Linked DNA regions of Homo sapiens: all the other regions are linked to region 2. The links are contacts of gene promoters, found by promoter capture Hi-C in human tissues and cell types (Jung and others, 2019). All regions are on one chromosome and are shown on one strand. The core of a region is centred on a gene start or on the middle of the fragment in contact, and the rest is flanking DNA. Distances in the headings are between cores, read along the strand shown. Region 1 overlaps MOCS1 (molybdenum cofactor synthesis 1). Region 2 holds the start of APOBEC2 (apolipoprotein B mRNA editing enzyme catalytic subunit 2). Region 3 overlaps KIF6 (kinesin family member 6).

Region 1 (3,422 bases), core at 885-3,384, 1.1 Mb before region 2:
GCCTACATTGCATCCCAGCTCCAGGCCTGGGTGGGCCATGGGTGAGAAGGGCAGGTGCTAAGCCCGATGGAAGTCCCCCCGCTGACCACCAGTCTTGCTAATGAGCTTGATCTCCTCCAACACGATGTCCCTGCTGACAGCCTTGCACATGTCATACAGGGTGAGGGCGGCCACTGCAGCAGAGGTCAGGGCCTCCATCTCCACCCCGGTGGGGCCCCGAGCCCGGCAAGATGCCTGGATCTTCACGGCATGGCGTGTGCTGTCCAGCTCCAGCTGCACCTGGATGTGGCTCAGGGCCACGTGGTGGCACAGAGGGATCAGCTGGCTGGTCACCTTGGCTGCCTGGACTCCAGCCAGCTGGGCCACCACTAGGGCATCTCCTTTCTTGAGCTGGTTCTGCTGGACAAGCTTGAAGGCTACCGGTCCCAGGAGGACCACGGCTGAAGCCACAGCCACCCGCTCTGTGTCTGGCTTCCTGCCCACATCTACCATAGCTGCCCGTCCTTCCGAGTCCACATGAGTTAGTTGTTCTGAGGTTAGCTGGGGTCCTGAGGGGGCAGCAGAAGCCCAGGAACCTGGGCTAAGGCACTTTGAGTTGGCATCTGAGTCTGCACGGGAAGTGTAGTGTCTCTGAAAGGAGCCAGACCCCAGCCGCTGCTGGGCTAGAGGAGGGGTCTGGGGGACCCTGCATCCTTTCCATAAAGTGGCCACCTGGCTGGAGAAACTCATTCTGGGTCTTAGACCCTGAACATGGAGCGGGTCCCAGGAGAAAATGCTTGGATTGGCTGGTGGGGAATTGGGGAACATCAAAAATAACTCTGCAAGGCAAGAAGAAAAGAGAAGAAACACTAAGTCCAAAAGGCAATTCTTTTTCCCACCTCTACTCCCCAACCCTCTCCCTATCCCACCTCAAGTTCTCTTTCATACCGGGGAAAGAGGAATGAAGAACAAAAAGCATAGTGGGACAAGACAAAGTAGAAGATCCACAGATAGATGGCACCCAGAGTCCAAGTTCACAGCCCTTCTCACCCAGTGATGTACAGGGTAACAGCCCTCCTAGAAACTGCTGTGCCACCGTGGCACAGGGTTCCCTCCACATGAAAACCTTCTCAATTCCCAAGTTCTCTCAAGCAGCACCAAGTTGAGGCCTGGATCACATGACCTCTGAATGTCCCTTCATTTTCTTAAAACTAGAGCTAGGTCTCACTCTAAATTACCAATTACACCTATTTTTATCTTCACATTCTCCATGAAGAGTTAATATAACCACTTAGTTTACAGACAAGATAATAAGGGGAATTTGTGATCTACTTAAATGTTTTTCAAGTCCCCTGAAGCACATGAGAAGCACATACAAACTGACGGGCTAATTCAGATGGTGCAGAGGGCCTAGGGAATGGTGCAGGCTCTTGTTACTCAAAGGGTGGTTGGCTTATGGACCAGCAGCACCAGCAGCACCAGCACCACCTGAGAACTCACAAGAGATGCAGAATCCCACCCCAGACCTTCCAAGTCAATCCAAAAGGACAAAATCCCCAGTGATTCACATGCACATGAAATTCTGAGAGGCCCTGTCCTAGGCAACTCTTGGTTGTATAGAAAGCAGACTGGTTACTCAATATCTCTGAAAGTATGAGGCAAATGCTCCCCCAGCTTCCCACTTCGCATCATACTCTAAGCCCCAGACATGTCAATGTCAGAGGGGCAGCCTCCCTTCTGGGGAGATGCCATCAAGGCCATGAAGGTGCCTCAGCATGGGTCAGGGCCCAACAAGAGGACTTGGATGCTGGGGGTGGGAGGAGAGGAGATGAGAGTCTTCTTCCCAGTGGCAAGCTACCTTTGCTTTCCCGGGCAGCCAGTGGGCAAAGATGGTCCTTGGGCTGTCTCTAGCCTGCCTTCCCCTCTGGGCCACTGAGTTCCCTCTGCTCTAACCTCTAAAGAAAGGATCTTTCCTCTCATCTTTTCTCCCCCCTGCTTTTTCTTTCCTAGTGGCACAGTTCAGGGGGCTCAGAACTGACTGCGAGCAAAGGGTCAAGGCCTCACCTGCTATAATCTGGGCACCGTGACAGAGGGGCAACAGCCACCCTACAGCTCCTCAGTGACCAGCCCAGCCCCCAGGGGTAGGAGACCACATAAGGACTTAAAACCAGGGGGCTTTTGTTTGAAGCATCCTACACACACGATGATACATCCTATGCAGATGTTCCTGAGAGTTAAGGAATTGGGAAGTTGAGGTCTTGGCCATCATTACCTCATGTTACATGTGAGTAACATTATTAACTTGCTGCCTCAAGATCTGCCCAGCACAGACGTCTGGCCACACATCCACCCGTGGGGGCTCATGGTCCAGATACACCGTGCATGGATCATTGGGTACTACAGAGGACACCTGTCACATTATCCAAATGGGAGATTTTAGAGCCGAGGAAAAGGCCTCTGTTTTAACCAGGATTTCAATTCTCAGGGAGCCACTAACTTAGTGATCATTAAATCTGGCAGACCATCCCCCTGCTCTGATGTCTGGTGAGACAGAAGGATCATTTCTGTGGCAGGTATAGTAAGGGGGATCATGAACAGTGGGGGAAGAAACAGTAAAACCTTGAAGGTTAAGAAGAGATGAAGGAGGAATAGAAGAAAAACAAGGATGAGAAATCAGCATGAAATGCAGGAGCTGGGGGTGCCTATGGCACGGCTCCCACCCCACGAGATCCCCAAATGACAAGGGTGAGTGGTTACGTACTGATGGGTCACCCACCGATGAGGATCATGGGCCGGTTCTTCATCTGGGAAATACTGAACATGCCTGGGGTGAGGGAAAGATGGGGAGGGAGAGGAAAGCAGGGGAGGGGGAGAGGGAGAGGAAAGCAGGGGAGGGGGAGAGGGAGAGGAAAGCAGGGGAAGGGGAGAGGGAGAGGAAAGCAGGGGAGGGGGAGGGGAGAGGGAGAGGAAAGCAGGGGAGGGGGAGGGGGAGAGGGAGAGGAAAGCAGGGGAGGGGGAGGGGGAGAGGGAGAGGAAAGCAGGGGAAGGGGAGAGGGAGAGGAAAGCAGGGGAGCGGGAGAGGGACAGGGCGGGGAGAGGAGAGTTCACTGAAACAAACGCGCTTGACAGCCCCGAGCACATGCACTCAGCTGTATGACAAAAGGCCCCCACATGTGCACTGCGAGGTCGCTCAAGGCTGAGCCCAAAGAACAGTCTGTGGACATCAGGACCCTGCCCTCCCTAAACAGAAGGCCACGTGTGGGATGAGAAAGAAGCAATGACACCCCCTTCTCCCCACCTAGTAAAACAGCCCAAGAGAATCTGGGGTCCCCTCTCCTGTGCAGCCTCTGCTATGACTTTTCCCCATGGAAGGAGAAGCATCACTGTACCCTGAGTCCAGAGGGCCAACAGCAGTGAGTGGTAGTGGGGATGATGCTGACTCT
Region 2 (3,362 bases), core at 822-3,321:
CAGCTACTTTGGAGGCTGAGGCAGGAGAATCGGTTGAACTCGGGAGGCGGAGGTTGCAGTGAGCCAAGATCGTGCCACTGCACTCCAGTCTGGTGACAGAGTGAGACTCCATCTCAAAAAATAAATAATAATAATCCTTTTAGTAGTAAATCCAAAAGGTAGGGGACCATATAATTTATTGTCCACAGCGGGACACCTTTGGGAGTAAAGGGGTGCTATTAGTAATTATGTCTGGACAACAGGAAGAAACCATGACTGGCAAACCAAAATGCTGGGCATCACACTAACAGAGCACTCTGCTGCTCAGACTCTCTGGAGGAGTGAGCCCTAAATCTTCCAAACCATCTTGACTCCTCTTCTTTAGTCAGACCCTCCAAAGGGTGCCCTACCCTCTCATCCCCACCAGCCAAACCCATTTGGAGCTGTTTTCAGATCCGTTCCCCAGTGTTCTTAGGTTCCTCATTTTCAACCTACAAGTGACCCTGACCCCTTCCTTCTGCTTCCCTGAGAATGGCCTAGAGTGTTTGCACTGCTCCAAACACGAAGACTTTTGCCTCTGCTAAGTACCCATCATGAGAGCTGCAAAAATCATCTAGCCATCCTCTGCTGCTGTTCCGGCTCAGGGTCTTTTCTATGGGCCCCCATCATCTCTCTCTGGCCTCAGTAGGCTTCTCACTGGTCCCCTGCCTCTGCTCTTCCCAAGTGCTCAGACCACCTGTCTCACCTGTTCAGAGACAATGGCTTCCCACCTCAGTCTGAGAAAAAGCAAGGTACTTATGACAGCCCATAAGGCCCCAGTCCCTTTTACCCTTGTTATCTCTCTGGCTTAATCTCTTAGAACTCTTCAGTCACCCAGATGTATGTCCTCGCTAGTTCCTCAAACACCCCAGGAATGCTCCCTTCTCAGAGCCTTTGCTCACGTTGTTCCCTTCCTTGGAACGCTTTCCTCTTAGACAACCAAATGATTAGTTCCCTTGCCTTCTTCACGTCTTCTTCAATTGTCTCCTTTTCAAAGTCCTTCACCCTGGCCATCCTATAAGTACGTAACCCCACCTCTTAGCACTTCCTGTTTCCATTTCCTGTCTTTTCTCCTTGGCACTTGTCATCACAAAATAGACCATGTATTTTACTTACCTTATTTGTTGTTCAGTTCCTCAAGCTCCACAAATCATCACAGCAGGGATTTTCATTTGCTTTGTTCTTTTGCCATATTCCCAGTACCTGAAACAGCACCTGGCATAGAGTAGATACTCAATAAATATTTGTTAAGAAGAATAAAAGACTGACTGTGAGGGCACATAGCATGGAGGTTGAATATTTGGCCTGAAGTACAAAAGCCTGCATTTTAATCCCGGCTCTGCACACTTCTGTGACTCAGTTTACCTGTAACTTGGGATAATACACATCGCCTCCCATGGCTGTGGCAAGCATGCATCTGATTTCATTTAAACCCCTAAACCCACTGCCTGGCCTGTTTCAAAATCTCTGAGCTAAGTAAATGGCAGCTATTGTTACTCAGGGAGGCTCCTGATCGATTTGACATTACATTATGGCTTTGTAACAGGCAAATCAGCACCCACCGCTTTTGAGTCATAACTCACACACTTACTCCCCAAATTGTCAGTTTTGATCCCACCTCTGCCAGGACCCCTCCTTTCCTGAACCCACGTTCCCCCAAAGCAAATGGCCTGGGTCTTTTTGCAGTCAGCCCCTTTCAACACACATCTCCTCCTGTTTAAATCTCAGAAGGCCACCCTCCTAAATCTCAGGATGCCTGCCCTGGGGCCCCTTCCACACTCTCCCCCAGTGGAGCTAGGGAATTTGGGTGGGAAACAAAGGGGAGAACATAAGGTGAGCTGAGAGGGAGAGGGAGAAGAGAGCAGGCCAAGCCATACCCACCTGCCAGGTTCCTGTCTTTGCCTACTGATAAATAGGGGATACTAATGGCCAGATTTTCCATTCCCCCACCCCAGCACCCGCTGTCACTCAATTAAAAAAAGATAGAGGGAGAGAGCCTGGGGGAGGGGCAGGAGGCCTTGGCTATAAAGCCTGTGGCTAAGTGGGGAAAGCACGAAGCCTGGCCTGCTGGGTCCTTTTCCCGTCATCCCCAGCCAGATTTAGCTGCTGACAGCTGCTTGGGACTCTGCCGCCAGGGCCTGGCCCAGACCTGCCTGCCTCTCTCCTCTCCCTCAGTGACTCCTGAGCCACAGCCCCTCCATGGCCCAGAAGGAAGAGGCTGCTGTGGCCACTGAGGCTGCCTCCCAGAATGGGGAGGATCTGGAGAACCTGGACGACCCTGAGAAGCTGAAAGAGCTGATTGAGCTGCCGCCCTTTGAGATTGTCACAGGGTAAGCCTCAGATGTGGGTCAGGGTTCTGCTCCCTAGAAGAGTGCAGCCTTGGGTTAGGCTGTGGAAATTCAGGATGGTTATATTAGGCGTCAGGGACAGCTACAACCCTGCAGCAGTGAGAGTGCACCAGTGGGCCCGGCAGGGGTGGTAGGGGACCCAGCAGCAAATTCTCTTGGCTTCTCAGGGTGACACCTTGGGCTCTCTAATCAGGGAGAGGTAGGAGGAGCTCCTTGGAGGCAAAAGCCCAGAGAATAAAACCACCCTTCAGGCCTCCTGGTATTGGGATGGCCACCTGCCTCTCTGGGTAGAAGCTTAGTCCCAGGGAGTTTGGCGAGGACAGAGGATGAGACTGGCACATCTATATGTGGCTCCGTTCAAAGCAACCCTTCCCCTCAACTTCTCTGTTCCTGAGTGGGTCTCTCCGCTAGCCATAGGCCTCTAGCCCTTTCTTTAGAGCTTCTTCCTGGAGTAGATGCTCCCAAGACAGGAAAGATAGATCCATCCTTTCCCAAGACTCAGAAGCAGCTTTTTTCTTATTAAATCTTTTGAGTCTCCTCAGGGGCTGTCCCACAGAGAAACAGAGAAATTACATGCAGATAACGCAGCCCAGGAGCTTATGGACACAGGAGCTGTTCCAACATGCTCAGGCATTGCCTGGAGGAACTGGGACCCAAAGAAAAGGGTCTACAGACTGCAAGGAGGGGGCTGTGTGCAGGGTACCTCTGTCTTATCCAGATTATGCCATCTCCAGGAATAAAACTAAGTAGTCTTCTTCCTCTTCCCTTTCTATTCCTGTAGTGGAAGACCCTTCTAAATCCTGAGCAAAGAATAAAAAGAGAATCTATGAGGCCATATTTCCTCCTTGAACCAAACGTTCCCTTCATGGGGTCTCCAGGAATGACCACAGGCAGAGTGGGTGCGAGACTAAGAGAAGTTTCAGGAAGAAAGGAGGCATGATGCTTTCAAGGGGGAAAGGAAGCCCTGAGTGGCAATTTGGACTTGATATTTCAAGC
Region 3 (3,298 bases), core at 147-2,646, 1.7 Mb before region 2:
CGGCACAGCCTTATACCACGAGCCTCTCATATGACTGGGTACTGCCTTCCTAATGAGCCTGGACAGTGGCTTGCTCCTTTAGAGCACACACTGGTTTGCACTGCTTCCTGGAAACTACCTCCCTGCTAATAAGCCTTCCCAGTAATAAGCCTCCCTGACAATGCGCCTCCTGACACATGCTTCCTCAAGTCTGTGCCTCCAAACCCCATGCCTTGACCAGAGTAGGTGTGCTCAACCTGGTATGTTACAATTTCTTCAGCGCCTATTGGAACGACCAAGTTCCTTTTTCCCAAACCCTAAGGAAGTATTTTTTTTTTTTTGGAATGACCAGGTTTAAGGATTCTCCACTGCCCCTGGTTTGGGAGGAGCTGCTCACGTAAATAAAGAGGGGATTTTGCCACCACAAGCATAAATACTCACTCTCAGAACAACGAGGCACCACCAGGGAACAAAAGGTGGGTCTTTATAATGTTACATATTGATAAAGGTTGTTTTACAATGCCGCTAGTGATACTCAGTTTTGGTGAATTGACTAACATCTCCCACCACATGGCAAGTTTTTTTTTATTTCCCCCAAACAAGCTTCCAAAAATAGCCTTATGGCTGATACCTAATTGCATTTCTAACAGAGCTATTCTTCATGTGCAGATAACAGTCTCTGTAACCTGCTGGATCTTGCAGCTTTATGGGTTTTGGCAAAAAAAGGAGTTGAGGGGGATTGCAGAATTCACTCAGCATGCAGCTTGCTGTCATTACCACGGTGATAAATTTGCTGGTTTTGGCCTGGGTTCCTGGACACATCCCCATCCAGAGGTATGGAAAAGAGATGAAATGGAAACAGAGAACTCCCAGCCTGAGGCCGGAGACAGTCTGGGAGGGAAGTAGGGAGCCCAGAATGGGGCTGAAAACCAAAAGGGTAGGGGAGGGAAGGAATGCTCTGCCTGCAGGAGTGTCCATAATTAGTAATTTTTCCTTCAGTAATTTACCACAGTACATGCTAGAAACACCTTCTCTCCCTTTTGATACATTAATTGATGGATTGTGGGTGGCAGCGGGGAGCAGAGCTTACAGCAATCCACGGGAAAGCTCCAGAGGAGACGGGTGACCTTAAATATGACCGCGAGCAGGGTATGTGGAGGTGGTGCTCTGTGTGGTATATGGGTTTTCTCTGTTACTGAGTAGTTCTAGGGAAAGTATTATCATCATGCAGAAGTGAAACTGATTTTTTTACATCAGTATTCAGTCTTCTGAATAAAACCATTTTCCATAAGCTTCACACTCTATTTTGCACGCATGCTAGTTTGAGATTATTCACGTGAACGCTGCTTGGCTGGCCTGGAGGAGAGCTATTCACTTACGACTCCCTGAGTGGCTGTCTGCTGCTCCTGCAATTTCTGGGATGCTGTGCCTCATTCAACATGTTTATGTTGCTATCAAACAATAAATACTTATCTCTCATCTACTATCGGTTAAGCACTATGTTCTAAGTGCTGTGGAATATACACACTCGTAGAAGGCTCTATCCTAACCTAGGAAAGTCAGTGCAGTACAGGGATCAGCAAATAGGTGGCCCGTGTGCTCTTTCTTTTAAGTGCTGGACCAACGGCTGGCCTTGCTCCTCCATCAGGGATGGTTTGCTTTCCTGCTGAGCCTGAGTTTGGCTCTTCCACACAGCACTCTGGGCAGCTATAGCCCATCACTTGAAGTTGGACTTGAGATGAAGCAAACCTCTTTGCTATTTCAGTTATTCTAGAAAATAATTACAAATCTGGGCCAGGCATGGTGGTTCATGCCTGTAATCCCAGCACTTTGGGAGGCCAAGGTGGGTGGATCACCTGAGGTCAGGAGTTTAAGACTAGTCTGGCCAACATGGCAAAACTCCATCTCTACTAAAAATACAAAAATTAGCTGGGCATGGTGACGGGCACCTGTAATCCCAGCTACTTGGGACACTGAGGCAGGAGAATCACTTGAACCTGGGAGGCAGAGGTTGCAATGAGCCAAGATCGCGCCGCTGCACTCCAGCCTGGGCAACAGAATGAGACTCTGTCTCCAAAAAAAAAAAAAAAAAAAAAGGAAATAATTACAAATCTGGAGGTAGACGAAGTTGAGTTCAAATCCCAGTTTTGCTACTTCTTAGTTGAATGGGCTAACCAACGTCTCTAACCTCAATGTTATCATTTGAAAAATGGAAAAATATTATAACTGCAATAATATCTGCTTTGCTATATCTCAAGATCTTTCAGAGGAGCAAGGGATAACGCACCAGCATGTATGATATGCCACACTCGTTTTAGGTATTCAGGCACTTTCAGACATATTGGAAGGATACTACATGGTTAAGATGACAGGTCAAGCGGCTAAATGTCAAATCAATGGTAGAGATACATTTAGAGGAGGGAAAGGAGACATTGGGAAAGGCATAATTACTACAGGCGAATTGAGTAGGCTCAGAAAAGAGCAAGGGTGTTAAGGTGCGCTTGGGAAGGGCACCTCAGTCTGAGAGAACTGCTGGGACAATAATGCAGAGGCCAAGTATATACTGGTTTGGGACAGGGGCGGCAAGGGAAGGTTGAGTGGAGGACTAGGGCTGGGGAAGACTAAGTTGTATTCATACTGGAGTCTGGGGTCCTGGGTAATTACTAAGAGCTCTGGACCCAGATAAATGCTATTTGTCTGTTTGACTATACTACTAGAGTTTCTGGGCAAAATCTGGTTAATATAAACATCAGTTGTAGAACTGGGGTGTGGGGAGAATATGCAGAATATGTTTCCTGCCTGAGGGGCCTCTTTGAAATGGAAGGTCTAGTTAGAGGCTCCGAACTCTGAGTGACAATTTCAGCTGTCATGTGAGAAGCAGTTTTTTTGGTACTAACATGGAGGATCATGATAACCAAAAGGTTAGATCCCTAAAGGCTGTGTGTAAGGCTAGTTGTAAAAATAATGGGCCTAGAATAAATTGTGTAATCCTTACACGGATTCCCAACTAACAGGAGGATGTAAATTCTTTGAAACCTTAAAATCAGACATATTCATGTCCCCCTTGCTAATATATATTTCATCAGGCTTTATCCAAACTTGTTGGTATACTTTGAAAATGTATTGAGTCAGGAACTACCTCTTCTCACCATAGCAGTGGTGGATAAAATAGAAAAGAGACTATCAGGAAGACATTGTGGGATTTGATTATGAGACATATTTCTGAAGACCAGAAGTAGGACGGAAATGCAAAAATGGTGAGTGGAGCTGAGGCCTTGAACTTGCAAAGCACTGGTTCCAGAAGTAGGAAGGTAACTAA

Evidence for each region. The method cuts DNA at HindIII sites, captures the fragments that hold promoters and counts their contacts. A contact is called where the count stands out against the background at its distance.
Region 1: a contact is called between a fragment that was not itself captured here and the fragment with the promoter of APOBEC2 in region 2, in 1 of the 25 tissues and cell types used here (dorsolateral prefrontal cortex).
Region 3: a contact is called between a fragment that was not itself captured here and the fragment with the promoter of APOBEC2 in region 2, in 1 of the 25 tissues and cell types used here (dorsolateral prefrontal cortex).

Annotation. Positions count from the first base shown.
Region 1 is chr6:39,906,300-39,909,721 of GRCh38, forward strand. It overlaps MOCS1 (molybdenum cofactor synthesis 1), which reads right to left. Exons shown (of 11, transcript NM_001358530.2): 10 at 2,756-2,803; 11 at 1-818. The coding sequence ends at 58. Among named protein-coding and RNA genes, the nearest start is that of DAAM2-AS1, 11 kb to the left of the region's middle. The HindIII fragment of the contact is 4,248 bases long and covers 11-3,422 here.
Region 2 is chr6:41,051,131-41,054,492 of GRCh38, forward strand. It overlaps APOBEC2 (apolipoprotein B mRNA editing enzyme catalytic subunit 2), which reads left to right and starts at 2,072. Exons shown (of 3, transcript NM_006789.4): 1 at 2,072-2,348. The coding sequence starts at 2,218. The HindIII fragment of the contact is 7,265 bases long and covers 1-3,010 here.
Region 3 is chr6:39,387,978-39,391,275 of GRCh38, forward strand. The region is part of intron 15 of KIF6 (kinesin family member 6); the gene reads right to left. It overlaps LOC107986594 (a long non-coding RNA gene), which reads left to right. Exons shown (of 4, transcript XR_001744111.2): 4 at 332-1,463. Among named protein-coding and RNA genes, the nearest start is that of KCNK16, 67 kb to the left of the region's middle. The HindIII fragment of the contact is 5,758 bases long and covers 1-3,298 here.